Regions from separate parts of the Homo sapiens genome. Here all the other regions are linked to region 3. The links are contacts of gene promoters, found by promoter capture Hi-C in blood cells and fetal thymus (Javierre and others, 2016). All regions are on one chromosome and are shown on one strand. Each heading gives the region's core, a stretch centred on a gene start or on the middle of the fragment in contact. The rest is flanking DNA. Distances are from core to core; before and after follow the strand shown.

Region 1 (2,700 bases), core at 1-2,500, 830 kb before region 3:
CGGAGTCTGTGTAAGTGAGAAACACAAGATAGAGATTCTTCTGATTTTTCGTCATATCTTTTCTGCCTGCAGGAATTTCATTTTCGTTTTTGTTTTTGGTCCCAATGAATCCAAATAACCATCAAATATCTCTTGGATTCCTGAGCTTCCCTTGAGGAGGAGTCAGGCAGAAGGATCCCAGCTTTGGAGCCTCTCCCTGCAGGTGTCCTGGAACTCTTCTGAGGATAATGTCCCTGTCCTCCCATCAGAACTTGCCGTGTTGTATTTGTGGTCATCTCATCTTGGCTATTTTGGGTTCAAGACAGTAGCTTTGTGGGGCTACAGAATGGGTGCCATGCTGGCTCTGGGTGGGCACGTGTGACGCTGGTCCCCTCTCCTTTGTAGCTGTGGTGCACCTGCCATAAGAAGTCCTTGGTGGAAACAGCATGCAGAAAGAGTCTCAAGGCCTTGAAGCTGAACTATTTGGACCTCTACCTCATACACTGGCCCATGGGTTTCAAGGTACCGTTCAGTAGGTAGTTCGTTCTGCAGTTTGCAGGACCTTCCTCCCCGTGCTCACACCCTGTCTTGCGGTGGGGAGAGCATGGACCAGCATTCAGGGCAGGGGTTCCCAGGCTGCATCTGCCACATGCTAGCTGCGGCATTTGGGCAGTCCTCTTGATATCTCTGGGCCTCAGTTAAGGAGAGGCTTGGCTTGACCTCTGAGGCCCCCACAGGTCTGTCTTTCAAGCCAGTCGCTTTTTTTCCAAGCCAAGAGAGCAGTAGATTTTTTTCCCTTAGGTTTTTAGGTGAAAGCAGTGATCAGATGAGGAAATACTGCTGCTCAGAGAAAGTTCCCAGTGAATTCCTAGGCCTTGTCTCTTCTTGCAGGTTCTGTTCTCTTTGGGGAGTAAATGCTGTTTTGCAATATGGGAGATATTTGCTTGTTCACCTGCAGCAGGGTCCAGTGGGTTGTGCTGGTAGTTGACTTTTCCACTTGGTTTTATTCTCTTAATTGCTTCACAGTGTGTCTGGAGCATGCATCTGAGCCATGGCTCTGTCACTAAGCTACCCCAGTCTGGCCGTGCAACTTCCCTACTCTAGGCAACCTGCTTCTGCCTCACACGGGTCCTGGCCAGGATGTCCCTGCATATTTGCCCTGGGCTGTGATGACAGCCTGCCTGGGCAAGGGCCTGATCACACAGTTGACACCTGTGAAATACAGAAGCCCTTGCAGGGATGTTCTTCCTACAATGGAATGGGTGACTGCTGCTCAGCAGTCTTCTACATACCAACCTGTGAGAAGGTCCCTTTATGTGTGCCACACTGTTGGTTACTGTTTTAGAGTAAAATAACAAAAAACACTTCATTCCTAGCACAGCTTTACTTAACTAAGGCTTTGTATCTAGTTTCCATAAACGATGTGGGCAGCTGTCCGTTAGTGACACTGACTAAGAGGGGAAGATACCCAGAGGGCAAAACCAGAGTGATGTCTGTGCCTTGAAATTCATTGCATGCAGAAAATCATAATTAAAACAATGGCTACAGCTGTATTACACTCATTGCCAGCCAGCATTGTTGTAATTATGTACCCAGAACTATGTTAGGTACTTTACACATATTAACTCATTTAATTCTCATGACAGTTCTACAAAGTTGACACTATTAACATCCCTCTTGGAGAGATGATGAAACTAAGATACAGAAAGTTTAAGGTTTAAGTTAGATTATTGGAGCCCAGAAGCATATGCTCAGGTCAGACATTTGTTACACTTTCCTTGCCCTCATCCTTTAGCAGATTCCTGTCTTTGGATTTCTGGGTCGTAGAAAAGGAAAAGGTCTCAGATCATCCAACAAATTACAGAAGAGAATAATGCAGCATCGTCAGCATGTCTTCTGGCCAGTAGGAACTGCTAGGCCTTGTGTGATGCTGGACAATTAGATCAGGGTCCGAGTATGAGTCCCGGGCTGCAATTTTGTGGAGGCTTGGATAAATGGCAACATGGGATGTGGCTTTAAAGTGAGACTGTTAGTTACTTCAGCTCATCATGGAAAATGCCTCTTTCATGTGTATCAGGCTGGAACATGTGACATTCTTCCACTGTTGTTTAGGAGTGTGATTAGGTGTCATTAAATAAACATGCCTATGCCATTCACCCTTAACATGCTACGTGGGAGTACATGAGGGAGGTAGCTGGATTGCACGTCAGTGCTTCTCTGAAAGATGACTTTAGGTTCTTGCCCTTTCAAGATGTATCTCTCTGCCCTCTACCTCCTGTGTACCTTTGTATTCTCACTTCCTTACCTGTCATCATGATGGGGATTCTAAGAAAGAAGACAAGACCCTAACAGTGGAGTTAGGAGAGGGTTGATTGGGCTCTATAAGACATGAAGAAAATGCACTCCTCACCCATTCTTTACCCGAAATTAGTAAACTATTTTCTGGAGGCAATGGGAGAGGACAACCTTGCATCAGTAAGGATACAGGGTCTTCCTTTCCCATCTTGTGAGAGATGAACAGTGAACATCAGGCTGGCAGAGGCTTTGCCAGCCATCCAGTCCACCAGCCATTCATCTTTTCTTAGAAAGGTGAAGACTGGGCCTGGTCACATGGCCAGGCTGGGGTTGCTTAGTGACAGGGCTGTGGCTTGGATGCAGGTCTCCTGACACATGGTTTTTTTTGTTTTGTTTTGTTTTGTTTTCACACATCTCAACTCTCCT
Region 2 (2,700 bases), core at 3-2,502, 850 kb before region 3:
ACACACAAACTCATGGACACACACACAATGACACAGATGCACAGACTCATTCCAAATCTTTCCTCTTGCCTTGCACTTTTATGATTAGTGAATTAAATCATAACCCACACCATTACCCAAGCCAGGAACCAGTGAATATTCCTGGCTGTTACTCCTCTCTTGAGCCCCACAGTTGCTGCAAGGAGTTGTGTCCTGCTGATGGCTCCCCTTCCACATGTCTCACCACCTTCTCCTCTCCTGCACACTCTGAGATTGTTTAGTGCAGGCCTGTACAATTGCACACAGGTGCTGCCTGTCACCCCAACAGCAGGCTTGTTCTCTCCATCTGCACCCAGAGAGAGGCTTTGCAGCTGGGGGTGCGAATGTGGCAGAATTTCCATCCTTTCCAACACACATTCATTTTATGGCCCAGAATGTGTTCTCTTCTCTCTTGGTGAATGTCCCAAATGCCTGTGAGCAGAATGTGTATTTGCTTCAATTGGGTGTGGTCACTAATGTCCCGGGCAGGGTAGAGTTGTCCAGCTCTTCTGTCTTTCCACAGATTGTCTAGGCACTGATTCTATCCATTACTGTGTTGAAATCTCTAGCTAGAATTGCAGACTTATTTCCCCTTTTCAGTTCTATCAGCTTTTGATTCCTGTATTTTGAAACTCCAATATGAAGCCCACACTCATTTAGGATTAATATGGAAGCCAGCCTTTAAATAAGAATTTTATCTTAAAATTAATATCACTCTGTCATCTTAAGAAGATGTGAGGCCTGTGAGAGCAGGTACTGTGTATTTTGTGTCTGTATTCTTTCTGTTTCACACTGCAACCATAATCGATGATGAATAAATAATGTTCCCTCTTGAAGATCTGGTCCCTGTCTCCAGGGCAGTGCTATGTAAAAAAAAAAGAGCAAATTCCTGCCTTCTAAACACTCCTCCACACCAACAAACACACTGTGCTAGGAAAGCAGCAGTGATGAAGGTGCTGGGCCTCCGGTGGAAAGGTAACACACATTTCCCATCCTCGGGAGCTTGCAGCACCGGCAGGCGGGCCGTTACACAGATAACACAGTATGCTTCTATGCCAGGGTGGACCCAGGAGTCCGTCCTCCCTGTCACTTACGAGACTGGAGTCCTGGAAAAGTTACTGAACTTCTCTGTGCCTTGGTTTATCCATCATGAAAGTCGGGTTAAAAAGAATACCCCACCCCTAGGGTGGAAGTGGGACTTGCTTGAATTGAAACAGTTGGTTTTTAAGTATTTTGCATAGCTGTTATTATTAAATTAACATCAAAAAAGTTGCCTGGTTATTTTAATATGGTCTTCACATAGGCAGTACAGCCGGCCAGATTTAGCATTTGCATTTATAACTGAGTCTCTCTTCTGCCTCCGTGAGACTTCCCAGGAGTTGCTTTGATGCTGCAGGGAGTCACACATCTCCAGATGCATCACTGGTGACTCAGCAAGCACCTGACCTGGTCCGTTACACATGGGGCTTATGTGCTTAACTCCTATGCGATGATGATTCTTCTCTAGTTCTTGGGGGTCGTTCCCTTTCTCCTACTGTACTGGCTGTTTAAAGTCAGCACTGTATGAGTTGCATACATAAGCCAAATGTCATTGACTTCTTCTTTTTTTTTTTTTTTTTGACAGTCTTACTCTGTTGCCCAGGCTGGAGTGCAGTGGTGTCATCTCGGTTCATTGTAACCTCTGCCTCCTGGGTTCAAGCAATTCTCGTGCTTCAGTCTCCAGAGTAGCTGGGATTACAGGCATGAGCCAACGTGCCCAGCTAATTTTTTTTTTTTTGTATTTTTAGTAGAGACAGGATTTTGCCACGTTGGCCAGGCTGGTCTCAAACTCCTGGTCTCAAGTGATCAACCCACCTTGGCCTCTCAAAGTGCTGGCATTACAGGCATGAGCCCTTGAGCCCAGCATAGATGTCATTGAAATTCAAGGGGGAAATCATTTGGAATGATCACAGCGACTGGTCCAGAGATGACTAACAGCTTAAAATGACCCCACCTGAAACAGCGGCGATCAGTGGAATGTCCAAGTATATATATATATATTTTTTTAATGAAGCTCTTTTGGACCAGAAACCCTAAGAATGTTTAGTCTGGAGTTCCATAATTATAAAAAAAATCTTCTGAAGTTAATCACCGTTTTTATCTGAAACCATACTCTAACTCAGTAACTCTTTCTCAGGGTTTACTTTCTCTTGAGCCACAAGCATCCATTTGTCCCCTACCAAAGGGACTAGACTTTCATGATGGATAAAAGGACACTAGTGCCAGGTAGCTTCTGCTTCTAAATTTTGGTTTAAAAAATGAAACATCTCCTTTTAGATATTCTAAAAAGTCATCTCCCCTAAAATCATGAAGCCTGGTTTATAAACTTTATAGAAGAAACTAGGTCTTTGAGGCTAACACATATTAGTGTATTAAAAAATACGGTAAACCAGCCGGGCACAGTGGCTCACGCCTGAAATCCCAGCACTTTGGGAGGCCAAGGCAGGTGGATCACTTGAGGTCAGGAGTTTGAGACAAGGCTGACCAACATGGTGAAACCCCGTCTCTACTAAAAATACAAAAATTAGCCAGGCTTGGTGGCATGCTCCTGTAATCCCAGCTACTCGGGAGGCTGAGGCACGAGAAAGGCTTAAACCGGGAGGCAGAGGTTGCAGTGAGCAGAGCTCCCATCACTACACTCCA
Region 3 (2,700 bases), core at 201-2,700:
CTGCGCAACAGCCCAAAACCTAAATGTTTTGGTCGCGGTACACCACACATCCAGAATTTGAGGTCAGAATGTTAAAATTGTCTAAAGCTCCTACGGTTCGCCTCTGGTGCTGCTGGAATGGCAGTATTGTTTTGGATCCAACACATTCAGCTTATTCATTACACTGGGAATAAAAAACATCAGCAGAACTTATTTGGGGAGAAATATATTAAATAAAAAATGACAATGTCAAAAATACCAGTGAACCTCAAAAGTTGCGGATTCATTAGTTTAAAATGTGCCTTTCTTCTACAGATGCATTCCATAACAAACGATGCAGAAGACATGCTCAGAAGTGATGCCATGAACAGAAATATTAAAATATGTGTTTAAATAAGCTTCTGCCGTTAGCTATTCACTGCTTACTCAATTAAGCTAATCAAATGCAGATCACAGTGTCAGGGTCAAAGTCTTGTGCTTGCCTGGACTGGAATGCCAAGTAAAAACACATGCTTATTAGATACCTTTGATCATGTCAAAGGTGGTTATTTTGCAAAGTCAATTAAAATATCTTTGCCTTGCTATGACTGCAACTTCCTCTTCAGCTAAATTTACCCTTAAGACTTTTCCCTCTTAGGTGCACTACTGTTTTTACCAGGATGAATATGCTTTAGATTTTTTTTTTCTTTTTAGGCTTTCATAGTGCTTCCGTCGCTCATTTCAGTGACCATATTATTGCTTCATAGGCAGCAAAAAAATTTGCTTCCCCAAAGAGTGTCCTTCCCTCAAATCCATTTCATTCTTGGGCTGCTCGGATTTTGGTAAAGTAGGCTGCGAACTGGGATGGCACTTTTCGGAGTGTGCCGGGGTGCCCCAAGGCCACCTTCACTGGAGCGGAGTCGGGGTCACGCGGACGCCTCTGCAGGATGCTCGGACACTGCGCCACGGCCTCACCCGCGCCAGTGGAGGGGGGTTTAGCTCTTACCGTGGGCTCGCGCCTGGCTTCCCCGAGAGGGAGCACCGTGGGCGTTTCCCAGGCTCTCCCCCGCCACTGGGCAACGGCCCCGCACGCGTCCCGCACCTTCCCCAGGGCGCGCGGCGCTCGGTGGGTTTGCGGTTGCGAAACCCCACACCTGGCGAGCCGCACGGACTGCAACCCCGCAGTGCGCTGGCCTGGGACAAGGCACCAGACATGAGAGCCCGTCTGGGATGCGCGGCACCACTGGGACCCTGCTTTCACCGCGGCCCACCCCGCCAAACGCCCCCGCCCACGGAGCCAGCGCGGGGCGCGCCACCACCTCCCCGGCGCAGGCCATCGGATACGCGGCCGGCCTCAGGAGCCGGCGCCGCTGCCTCGCTCTGACCTCCGCGGCGCCCGCACGTACCCACGTCGCCCAGGAAGCAGCCGTCCGCCGCCCGGGGCTCCATGCGGCTCACCGGCGGCCGCGCGGCGACTCTGGGCGCCGGGACCTGGGCCGGGCCGCGCGGGGCCGCTGGGCGGGGCCAGTCTGCGCTGGGCCGCGCGTCGTCCCGAGGCGACCGAGCCGGGAGTTGTAGTTCCCGCCGCCTTGGCGAGGTTCCCGGAGGCGCTGTCCCTGGGTCCGGACTCCGCTGTCGCTGCCCACCCCGCTTCGCCCGTCGCGCCGAGGAGTGTGTGTGCTTGCATCTGCAAACCGTGCGTCCCGTGCACAGAATACGTCCGGTGCAAAACGTGTCCTGTGCACTTGTCCTATGTAAACGTGTGTGTCCGTGTGCAAAACATGCATCCTGTGCATATGTCCTGTGCAAAACATGCGTCCGTGTGTAAACTTGTATCCATTGTAAGCATGCTTCCCTGTGTCCCTTTGCAAAGCATGGATATGTGTTTCCATGTGCAAAACATGTGTCCTGTACAAAACATGCATCCTGTGCATGTGTCCTGTGCAAGCGTGTCCTGTGCAAGCGTGTGCAAAACATGTGTCCATGTATAAACATGTATGTATTGCAAATGTGTCCTGTGCAAGCATGTGTCTGTGTCCACGTGCAAAGCATGCGTCTAGCTTCCAGAGTTCACTTGCATTGTACAGATGCTGATGATGCTCCAGAGTACTCGAGTTCCCCCATGCTTTAACTTTCAAGAACCGCTTCCCACCAGAGCCGGTGTTCATAATCACTGTTTCTTTGATCTTTCAAGATAATAATTTCAAATCGTTCAAATCAATTTCTTAATGCCTTTTCTTTACGGGTGGTTTTTAATCCAATGTTCCCCTAAGCTGCTTAGCAAATGGAAGCTGGGGCACAACCTGGCAGAAATGAAAAACCTGTTTCCTGTTTCCGGAATAATACCCAGTCAACAATTGAGTAAGGGATTTTTATTTTATTTATTTATTTTTGCAAAGCAGCTTCCCAAGTTTAGAAGGTTTAACCTTGTGAAAGTTCACTGTAGCCCTGTCAGGAGATTCGTCACTCACCTGACCTGTACTGAACCTCCATGCAGAAGTTAGTTTGGGCTCAAAAGTAAAAGTATCAGGAATCATCCAGTCTGGAAATAGGTGAGGCCTGGCAGAGCAGCCAGTTTGATCTCTCACACTACAAAGCTTCTGGGATGACCCAGGTCTCCATCTGCAGTCCAGACCGAAGGCACTATACCTAGGGGACATTGAACCATATCTTTTGGAAAGCAGAGCCCCTGGAAATGTGGAGCCCCAGGCCTGGGAATGGAATTTCAAGCCATTTGCACTG

Evidence for each region. The method cuts DNA at HindIII sites, captures the fragments that hold promoters and counts their contacts. A CHiCAGO score of 5 or more calls a contact.
Region 1: a fragment that was not itself captured here is called in contact with the fragment with the promoter of ASB13 in region 3 in 1 of 17 cell types (endothelial precursors); the score reaches 5.1 in endothelial precursors.
Region 2: a fragment that was not itself captured here is called in contact with the fragment with the promoter of ASB13 in region 3 in 4 of 17 cell types (M1 macrophages, M0 macrophages, erythroblasts and 1 more); the score reaches 8.3 in M1 macrophages.

What each region holds. Positions count from the first base shown.
Region 1 is chr10:4,832,966-4,835,665 of GRCh38, forward strand. AKR1E2 (aldo-keto reductase family 1 member E2) reads left to right here. Exons shown (of 10, transcript NM_001040177.3): 3 at 385-501. Among named protein-coding and RNA genes, the nearest start is that of AKR1E2, 8.1 kb to the left of the region's middle. The HindIII fragment of the contact is 4,627 bases long and covers 1-2,700 here.
Region 2 is chr10:4,811,701-4,814,400 of GRCh38, forward strand. No RefSeq gene overlaps it. Among named protein-coding and RNA genes, the nearest start is that of AKR1E2, 13 kb to the right of the region's middle. The HindIII fragment of the contact is 3,258 bases long and covers 1-2,700 here.
Region 3 is chr10:5,665,145-5,667,844 of GRCh38, forward strand. It overlaps ASB13 (ankyrin repeat and SOCS box containing 13), which reads right to left and starts at 1,451. Exons shown (of 6, transcript NM_024701.4): 1 at 1,365-1,451. The coding sequence starts at 1,407. RefSeq lists silencers at 1,035-1,084, 1,385-1,454. The HindIII fragment of the contact is 2,178 bases long and covers 376-2,553 here.